Regions from separate parts of the Homo sapiens genome. Here region 2 is linked to region 1. The links are contacts of gene promoters, found by promoter capture Hi-C in human tissues and cell types (Jung and others, 2019). All regions are on one chromosome and are shown on one strand. Each heading gives the region's core, a stretch centred on a gene start or on the middle of the fragment in contact. The rest is flanking DNA. Distances are from core to core; before and after follow the strand shown. Region 1 holds the start of LRRCC1 (leucine rich repeat and coiled-coil centrosomal protein 1). Region 2 overlaps LOC105375937 (a long non-coding RNA gene).

Evidence for each region. Contacts are between HindIII fragments. The study calls those that stand out against the background at their distance.
Region 2: a contact is called between a fragment that was not itself captured here and the fragment with the promoter of LRRCC1 in region 1, in 1 of the 25 tissues and cell types used here (thymus).

What each region holds. Positions count from the first base shown.
Region 1 is chr8:85,104,607-85,109,846 of GRCh38, forward strand. LRRCC1 (leucine rich repeat and coiled-coil centrosomal protein 1) reads left to right here and starts at 2,632. Exons shown (of 19, transcript NM_033402.5): 1 at 2,632-2,793; 2 at 4,989-5,194. The coding sequence starts at 2,690. LOC105375933 (a long non-coding RNA gene) reads right to left here and starts at 3,256. Exons shown (of 3, transcript XR_929117.3): 1 at 2,953-3,256. RefSeq lists an enhancer at 2,744-2,803. The HindIII fragment of the contact is 9,097 bases long and covers 1-5,240 here.
Region 2 is chr8:85,512,901-85,518,140 of GRCh38, forward strand. The region is part of intron 3 of LOC105375937 (a long non-coding RNA gene); the gene reads left to right. Among named protein-coding and RNA genes, the nearest start is that of CA3-AS1, 51 kb to the left of the region's middle. The HindIII fragment of the contact is 6,335 bases long and covers 1-5,240 here.

The DNA of each region.
Region 1 (5,240 bases), core at 1,382-3,881:
TCTCTTTTTTACTATTTTTAACTTACAGTCTATTGTATCTAATATTCATATAGCTATTCCTGCTGGCTTTTGGTTTCCATTTGCATAAAATATCTTTTTTCTTCCCTTTACTTTCAGTCCATATGTGTCTTTACAAGTGTGATGAGTTTCTTCTAAGCAGACTATTGTTGGGTCATTTTTTAATCCATTAATTCAAGCTATATCTTCCAGGTGGAAAATTTATTCCATTTGCATAAGGTCATGATTGATACGTGAGGGCTTATTCCTGTCATTTTATTAATCCATTTCTGGTTATTTTTGTGTATTCCTTGTTCCTTTCCTTCTCTATCATTGTTTATGATTGTGGTTTGGTGGTTTTCTGTAATGGTAACATTTGAGTCCTTTCTCTTTCTTGTGTGTTTGATCTACCAGTGGACTTTATATTTTTGTGTGTTTTCATGCTGGTAAATATTGTCCTTTTGTTTCCATATGTAAGACTCTCATGAGCATTTTTATAGGTCCAGTCGACTGGTGATGAATTCTTTTGCTTTTGCTTATCTTGGAAAGACTTTATTTTTCCTTGGTTTATGAAGGATAACTTTGTTGAGTACTTGGCTGGCTGTTTTTTCTTTCAGCACTTTGAATTTATCATACCATTCTCTGCCGGCTTGTAAAGTTTTTGGTGAGAAATCCACTGTTAGTTTGTTGAGGGTTCCCTTATAAATGACTAGATGTTTTTCTCTTGCTGTTTTTAGAATTCTTTGTCTTTGACTTTTATCAGTTTGACTACAATGGGCCATAAAGGAGACTTTTTCTTTTCTTTTCTTTTTTGCGAAAGAAGACATGCAAGCAGCCAAGAAACATATTTTTAAATGCTCAACATCACTAATAATCAGAGAGATGTAAATCAAAACTATAATAAGATATCATCTCACAGCAGTCAGAGTGGGTTTTATTAAAAAGTCAGAAAATATGAGATGTTAGTGAGGTTGCAGAGAAAAAGTAATGCTTACACACCATCAGTGGGAATGCAAATTGCAGCCACTGTGGAAAGCAGTTTGGAGATTTCACAAAGAACTAAAAATAGAATTACCGTTCAATCCAGGAATCCCATGACCAGGTATCTAGCCAAAGAAAAATAAATTGTTTTACCAAAAAGACACCCGCATTCATATGTTTATTGCAGCACAGTAGCAAAGGCATGGAATGAGCCCTGATGCCCATCAATGATAGACTGGATAAAGAAAATGTGGCACATATACACCAACATGCAGCCATAAAAAAGAACAAAATCATGTCCTTTGCAGCAATATGGATGCAGCTGAAGGTCATTATCCTAAGTGAATTAACACAGAAACAGAAAACCAAATACCATATGTTCTCACTTCCAAGTGGCAGCTAAACACTGGATACACATGAACACAAAGATGGGAACAATAGACACTGGGGACTCCAAAAGGGGGAAGGCAAGAGTTGAATAACTACCTATCAAGCGCTATATTTACTATTTGGGTTACAGGATCATTAGAAGCCACAACCTCAGCATCGTGCAATATACTTATGTAACAAACCTGCACATGTACCCCCGAATCTAAAATAAAAAGTGAGATGAAATTTTTTTTAAAAGAAAACCTTTTTGCATTGTATCTGTTTGGGAACCTTTGGCCTCCTGTGCCTGGGTGTCTAAATCTCTTGCTAGACTTGGGAAGTTTTCATATAGTATTTTGTTGAACCATTTTTCCAACTCTATTGTTTTCTCTTTGCCTTCTGAGACTCCAAAATTTTGAATATTTGGTCACTTTATGGTGTCCTACATGTCATGTGGGTTTTGCTCATTTTTTAAAACATCTTTTTTATTTTTGTCTATATGAGTTATTTCAAAAGGAAATAGTCCACTTCAAATGGACTACTGCACCATTTGCTCCGTTTTAAAATATTACTATGCCTTAGGAAGCAATCTAGCCAGGAGGGTTATTTGACCTCACACAGGTATTGCTTTCCCACCTGTAATGCCATTCATCCAGAACTCCCCCTAACCCAGCAAGACTCTATTCAGTCATCAATCACTTCTTTTAGAAAACGTACCCACTACCCATATCACTCTAGAGTTGGTTTCGATGCCCTTGTGTTATTCTTAGCATTCGTCATACTGTATGGCAATTCTGTTTCCTCTATGGGGCTGCGAATGTTTCCAGGAACAAGAATAGGCTTCATCTTTTTCTTCCTCATACAGGGAAGTGACTGACATACAGTAAGGCATCCCACAAATTGTTCAATGAATCAACAGGAGGTGCAATGGCCAGAGGAACAATTTATACGTATGTAAGGCTATGTAAAGGCACGTAAAGCCAAACCGCTGTGAAAACCGCCTTCAGAAGTCAGTCGGCTACTAGGCAAATATACAGAAGCACACAGGACAAATCCATTCATTCTCCAGCTCCTACACGCCCGGGAAGCAGTTTTACTTTACAGCAAGTTCAAGAGTCGCACCGCAGATGCTGTAAAAACGAAAGAAGCCCACAGTTGGGACGAGGATTCCAGTTTTGCGTCACCGTCAAGGCGGGAAAGTTCCCGGCTGTCGGTTGGAGGGTGGGTCCTCGCCCCGCCCCGCCCCCTCGGGCCGCCCTTCCGCGCTTCCGGGAGGCTTGTCCCAAGCTCACGGACCCCTCGCTGGGTGCCGGTTAAGACCCCGCTCCCCGTCGCCAGTGCTATGGAGGCGGCGGCGGCGGTGGTGGCGGCAGAGGCGGAAGTGGAAAACGAAGACGGCGACAGCAGCTGCGGGGATGTATGCTTCATGGACAAAGGCTTGCAGAGGTAAAGGGCGCTCCGCAGCCAGGAGCGACCCGCGCACTCCCCAGAGCCGGGGCCACGAGTGGCTGGCGGCGACACCAGAGTGGAGGCGCGGCACTGCTTTACCAAGACCATAAGTGAACGCAGTCTGGCTTTCGGCCTCCCCGCTCCTCCAAAACTTACCTGCCGAAGTGCCAGGTTGAATGAGCCGTGGATGCCTTCCCGCCCGTGTCTCCTGCCCAGCGTTTCACACGACTCTGCTTAGCCTAGAAACTGCCCCAGGACCTTGTCCTCCACCAGCTTCTGACCACTCTTTCCTTCTGCTGGTTTTCCTTACTTACTGGTGGTTATTCCTTTGCTTGCCGTTTAATTGCTGGTTTTCTCGTGTTCTCTCGTCTTTCCTGTTCTTACCTCTGAAAAAAACCTGCAGGATAGTATCTCTGGCAGCTATGAGCGGGCAGTCGCTGCTGCCTGTTAGTTTTGCCTCAGTTCTCCTTGTCTGCATTCGAAATCATTTGTCCGTTACAGAACATTGCAATACATATATTCATATACTTTTTGAAAGTACTAAACTTACTATATTTAGTTCATCGTTTCCCTCTCTCTTGAAGCCCTGACTTGTGCAAAGCATATGAGGCACTTGGTTCTGTAATACTGTAAAGCAGGTCTCCACCTGCATTTCAGGCTCTTTAGTCTCGACCCGTAACATTTCTCCACTTACACTTTATTTACCTGTACTGAGCTACAGGCAATTCCATAGCAGACTTCTCTGTGCCTTTGCACATGCTGTTCCTTTGTAGCGTGTCCTCTACGCGAACTCTGCTACTGATAATTAAGCATCTTGTTCTGGATTCTGATTTAAACTTTGCCAGATGATCCCAAGAAGATGCTGTTCAAGGGACATTTTACATTTCTATTTAATACTAGCTGCCATTTACTGAATGCTATCTGTTGTGTGCATGTTATATACATTATCAGTAATCCTCACAGCAATTCTACAAGGTAGTAATTTTTCTCATTTACAAGTGATGAATGAGACTCAGAATCTATTGACAATTTGTTCATCTTTATACACTTCATGAAGAATTAAGTTCGGATTCAAACCCATTTTCCGTCTAATTTCACTATGCTTTTTCTATCTCACATTATCTGCACATTATTAATGTCGAGAAACTGAAATGTGTCAGAAAGTAAATGACTGTCATTAAGAGCATGTGTTAACAGCATAAGGTCTGGCACTAAATAAGAACTCAAGTAAATGACACAGCAGGATAAGTGGGAAATGCCCCAGATAGTCACATTTAAAGGTTGCTAGTTTGAAATTTGCAAATGCTTCCCTGCTGTCAGAGTTAGGTTTCCTACAGCTGTAAGATAGCTGCTACTCAACCTACAGCAGATGCCCGTGACATTGTGTGTTCCTGGGTGTATCTCCCATCTAGCAACTCCAAACTGTGTATGCTGTAGTTTGTGTTCCTGGAACTACTATCTTCAGGAGAAGCTTCAGTTATAAATAGTAATTGGAGTGAAGAGATGAGTTCTGTTTAGGGGAGATCCATTAACTTTCAACAAGGGAGGACAGGGACTTTTTCAATAGGAATTGCAATAACATGGTTTGTTTTTGAAAATGCAATAGACTGTGGATTAAATAGCTATTGCACACAAAGAAGAAAATAAAGTTATAATCTCCAGCATGAGATCTGGATTTACATATGCTCTGTTAGCTGCAAGAATTTGGGCAAGCTATTTAATTTCCATAAATTTAGGTATCCTTAAGATACCCACTGCTTAGAGTTATTGTGAGAATTAATTGAGGTAAGAAAACTGAGGCTCAGGTTGTCATTTGCTCAAATCACACAGCAAAACCGTGATAGAATGCAGATTCAAACTGGGATATTAACATTCCAAAGCCTTTACAGTTATTGACTACTATTCAGCACTGCCTTCAATATATGCTGATGACTGCACACAGGAGTTAGAAATGCCCACTGTCACTTGCCTGCCTTGAGCGGTTTCTTGTTTGTATAAATAATCCAAAATACTTGGTTGTGTTGTAAGAAGCACCGTGTTTTGTGAGACATTTCAAAGGTACCACAAATAGGAAAGATTTCATTCTAGAATGAATAGAGCACATATTTAGTATCTACGTGCTGTTTGGTTAATTTTAGTTATTTGGTCATGCTTTTAAAATCTATTTTTATAGTATATATTTTCTTTTATAGCATATCAGAATTATCTTTAGATTCAACTCTTCATGCCGTCAATCTTCATTGCAATAACATCTCCAAGATCGAAGCCATTGATCATATTTGGAATTTACAACATCTAGATCTGTCATCTAATCAAATAAGTAGAATTGAAGGACTAAACACACTGACAAAACTGTGCACATTAAATTTGTCCTGCAATTTGATTACAAAAGTAGAAGGTTTGTAAGTGATTTTCATTTAACACTTAGCGTAAGGAAAATGATT
Region 2 (5,240 bases), core at 1,247-3,746, 410 kb after region 1:
CTTTTAGCCAGCTGATAATAGTTTCTTCCCACCCTTACCCCTCAAAAAACCCAGAAAATATTGTAAGAAATATTATAATATCCCACCATTCATTTTTTCCGTGTGACTCTTAATGTTGTGGCCTATGAAAGGAAGCTACAGATGATCTAACTGACCTCTAAGATCCAATCTATTCTAACATTCTGCACATCTGTAACTCTATGAGTAGATGAATTGTGAGTACATATATCTAATATTATAGAAACTCACCTAGGATCAACGCAGAAGGGTAAAAATGCTAAATACCTATTCTGAAACAGTAGCCTCACAGAAGAATACTACATAAAGTTATCATCCAATTTCCAGAAGCGTAACCTAGTTTCAGACTAAAACGCAAAATTAAAAGTATCCCTGCTGTAATGAAACACTTCTTTTCATTTTGTACCAATGCACTCCAGTATCATTCTTGCTTATATTTCAACAGTTTTTGAGTCGAGTTGGTAGGCTTAGGAAGAGATGACTTATATTTATGCCAGATTCAGCACAGTTCCTTTCCAATGGTACTTAAATGTCCTTATTCCAGAGGGAAATAAAATGACATACTACAATGGAAGCATTTTGAGCTGCAGAATTTAGAACTGTGTCCTCCAAATCATTTGGTTAGTAAGGTATCTGTTGGAAAAGCCCAAAAGAACTTCAACAGCAAAAATTGACCAAGTCTTCATTGTTTTTGCCTCAATATATTTCACACACAACTTTCTGGGAAGGTAGCCAAGGTAGGAGTTGCCCTAGCTAAAAATACATTTCCTTTAAATGTGAAAGTGGAAGTGATTGTAGCAATTGTTATTTGTGAGGCTCCAAAGAGATACTGATTGCTGCATAGTAGATTTGTCTCATGGAATTTAAAGAGTTTTCTGACATGATCTTATTAAGCCATGTTAATTATTTTGTTCATAAACTAAGTAAGTATTTAGAACTACAATCTGTTCTACTTTAAAGCTGTTTCATTGATACTGCTTCCCTTGTGCAAATAGGAGATAATAGGAGAATAATGTCTACATAACACAGCAGTTGTGTCTTAGTTCATGTATAATTTTTTTTCCAGCAGGTTAATGTTTTAAAGTGGTCAGAGTAGGCTTTCTTACAACTAAAGAAAGAGCCTTAGCAATCTGTGAATTAACTCTGGAAATCTACAGAACTGCAGGTGGAGACTAGGTTAGTGGCTTCAAGAATTGCTACCCTTTCTACTATGCCAAGCTTCTTGGGTAAACTGTTACTGCAGATAACAAAGCTGCAATGACATTTCCCTTCTATTAAAAAAAAAAGGTACACTCTGGATAAGATTTCTAATATTTGTTAAATAATCTACTAGAAGAGAGTGTCCTCTAGGATCTCTCCTTCAAAGGGAAATCACCAGAACCAGGAGTTAAAATTGCGAAGATTAACTGATTGGACATAAATACAAAGAGAGATTTAACAATGCTGGTATTTCTATTAGGAGGGTTAATTATTCTCATTAGTGTCTTGGTTGCAAAATTCCATAGCTTATGAGGAATTTGTCCCAATTCTATTCTTTCCATAAGCTCTCTTATTTTTAGTGTCCAATTTTACAGAGGTGAACATGCATTGTAGGAGAAATACCTGAATTATTTTATAAACAGGAGAAAATCCAAATTTTCTAAATGTAAGAGATTAAAGCCAAGTCACAATCCAATGAGGAGGCAGAGTAAAACATTAGGATTTATGGTTCTTAATTCTTGCATGACTGTTTTAGGAAGTACTTGTTTGTATCTACCACTGAAGATATGTGGTGGTATAATATATACATATATCAAAACAATCACACTATAATCATACATATCTACAATTATTTGTCAATTAAAAGTAAAATAAAATAAATTTTTAAGAACAAAGAAAACAATTGAAATCTTTCAACAGACTTTATTTTCCTTTTATTTTTACACATTTACTTATTTCCAAAAGGATTGAAATGCCACTAAGGAGGGACTTAATACTTTATGACTTTTTCAGAGCCTCCTTGAGACATGTTAAAGTTGCACAGTTGAAAAATACCACACAGCTTTACTGTTGTGCTTGGCAACTTTTCAGAAGATAAATGCTAGCATTCCAGAGGCTTCCTAGTGAATGATGAAGGGTGGAGACACACATTCAGCACCTGATGGCAAGCTGGGCTAATGGTGAGAGGTACCTTTGTGGTGGATGAAGATGTGGAGGGTGGGTGCAGAAGACTGCAGGACAGAGTGAGACAGGATCAGGGAACAGGTGCCTGTGATACCAAAAATCAGCTCTAGGGGTATTTTGCCATGTGTGTATGGGTTGCTGAATATCTTTGCATATGACATTTTTCTGCATTAATTAATTATTCATTTGACTCAAGAAATGTGCTTTGCATATCTATGTTGTTCCGGGTACTGTGCTTAGCATGAAGGAGAGAGATGAAAAACACTCAGCCTCTGGTTTCAAACAAACCAACAGCCAATTGCAATCCAGTATAATAATGAGTGTCTGGTGTTATGGAAGCAGAAGGACACCTCTAACTCAGGCTGTGGTCAGAAAATTTAAAATGTGAGGATAATGCTTGAGTTTAGAACACCGGAAAACTTGGTAACCTGCCAAGTAAATAAAATGGGAGAGGGGACTTTCAGGCAGAGAGAATGGAATGTACAAAGGTGAGAGACAAAAAATATCGGAGTTTTGGGAAATGCAAGTGAGTGTGGTGGCAGCATAACCTCTGTGTGTGTGTGTGTGTGTGTGTGCACGCATCTGTGTGCACATGTGCACAAGCATATATGTACACAATATGTGGAGTGATGGGGAAGGAATCAATTGAAGGTTGAAAATGAAATCAAAGAAGCAGGTAAAATCTAACTCATAAAAGGTTGTGCCTATCAACAGTTTGAACTTGGTAGGGTTTAACAATTAGTTTACTCAACCCAAGTTGCCTCCTTTACCTGTTCTCCACCATAGCACTTTCAAACCTTTGCTGGGCAATCAGCTCTGTGAGGGTAGTAGCCATGACTCTTAGTCACGGTTATATCTCTGGTGACAAAGCATAGTAGCTGACGCATGGGAGATGTCCAGTAACTACAGGTAGAATGAGTCTCTCTTCTCAAGCTTTTAGCTCTATGCCAACTCCTTCCTCCCAGAAGGTGACTTTAACTTTTTTTTTTTGAGACCGAGTCTCACTCTATCACCTAGGCTGGAGTGCCATGGCACGATCTCGGCTGACCGCAACCTCTGCCTCCCAGGCTCAAGCGATTCTCCTGCCTCAGCCTCCCCAGTAGCTGGGCTTTCTGGCGCCTGCCACCACACCCAGATAATTTTTGTATTTTTAGTAGAGACAGGTTTTCGCCATGTTGGCCAGGCTGATCTCGAACTCATGACCTCAAGTGATCCTCCCGCCTCGGCCTCCCAAAGTGCTGGGATTACAGGCTTGAGCCACTGCACCTGGCGATTATAAGTTCCTAACTCAGGAAATAATCATAATCAGACATTGTGTTACTTTCCTAGAGCTTCTATAACAAAATGTGACAAACTAAGTGGCTTAAACAACATACTTATTGTCTCACAATTCTGGAGCCTAGGAGTCCAAGATCCAGTGTCAGGAGAGTTGATTCGTTCTTGAGGCAGTGAGGAAGAATCTGTTCAATGCTTCTTCCCTACCTTTTAGTGGTTTTGGGGTAATCTTTGGTATTCTTTGGCATCTAGACGCATCACTCCAATCTCTGCCTTCATGTTCACGTGGCATTCTCCGTGTGTGTGTGTGTGTGTGTGCACCTGTTTCCAAACTTCCCTTTGAGTAAGGACACGAGGCACTTTGGATTAGGACCCACTATATTATTCTCATTGTAACTTCATCACCTCTGTAAAGATCCTATCTCTGAGTGAGGTCACCTTTTGTAGTAATCTAGGTTAGGACTTCAACATACGATTCTTGTGGGGAGTGTACAATTCAATCCACAACAGGTACAAACTTCAAAACTACCTTCCATCAACTTTCATAATTTATTCTGCAAATAGAGTTTACTGTCCCCATTTTAAAGAGGAGAAAATTGGGGCTTACCCTCTTTCTATGATTTGATCAAGTTTCCACAGCTAGTAAGTGGCAGAGTTTTAACATTGTCTTTAAATAGCCAGATTGAATGCAACCAAAACAAACATTGCAGGAAAGAATTACTTGTTTTATATGTAGGTAGCATGCAATATAAGAGTTGTTCATTCATTATTTTACTTATCTGATAAATAAACATATTGAATATTTATGATGTACCAGGCACTGTGGTATGTTCTGAGGGGACAAGAAATTAGTAAAACGTAAAGGTTGACCTTAAAGCAATTTGCCATTTTCATGTCCAAATTGTAATGTCAGAACATATAAACATTGATCGAACATAAGGGGATGTTTTCCCAGATTTATCAAACTAAACTCAAACTACTTTACTTCAATTTCTTAGATACTCTATAAAACAACAAGGCAGAGAAATGTAGTGGGTTAATAATACAATATAATTTGAAAAGGTTGACTTCGAACATGTTTAAAGAGTGTAAAACATTTGGCAGACAGTTTAATAACCTGTTCAGATAAAAGAAAACACGTATAAAAATAAATACACAAAAAGCTAAAATGATTGCCAAACCTCATGTTTACTCACCCACTGTGATAGGATCTAAGAATGCTGAAAAGCAGCAAATTTGTCTTAAAAGGCAGTGTATTTTCAGATTCAGCAAATATTTACTGATGCCTACTGTGTGCTGGACTGTTTCCTGGGCGTTTTCCATTCTACCTGTGTGATAGTAAGCATCTTACCCCATGAGTCTCAATTGCCCATCTATAAAATAGAAACAGTAATAATACTTTCCTCACCACATTGTTATGAAGAGCAAATGAGATACCATAGGAAGAACTTGGTGCAGTGGCTGGCATGTAGTAGGTTTTTTTTTTTTTTTTTTTGAGTTAGATTCTCATTCTTTCACCCAGGCCAGAGTGCAGTGGCAGGATCATGGCTTACTGCAGCCTCAATCTTCCAGGCTCAGGTGATCCTTGTACCTCGGCTTCCCAAAGTGCTGGGATTACAGGCATGAGCCACTGTGCCCAGCCTGTAGTAGCTTTTCAATAAATGTTTGTGGAATCTGAATCTGAATCGTATAATTTTTCCTATTATTCTTAGACTAAGATTGGAGAATTAGGGCCAAGTGTGGTGGCTCATGCCTGTAATCCCAGCATTTTGGGAGGCCAGGGT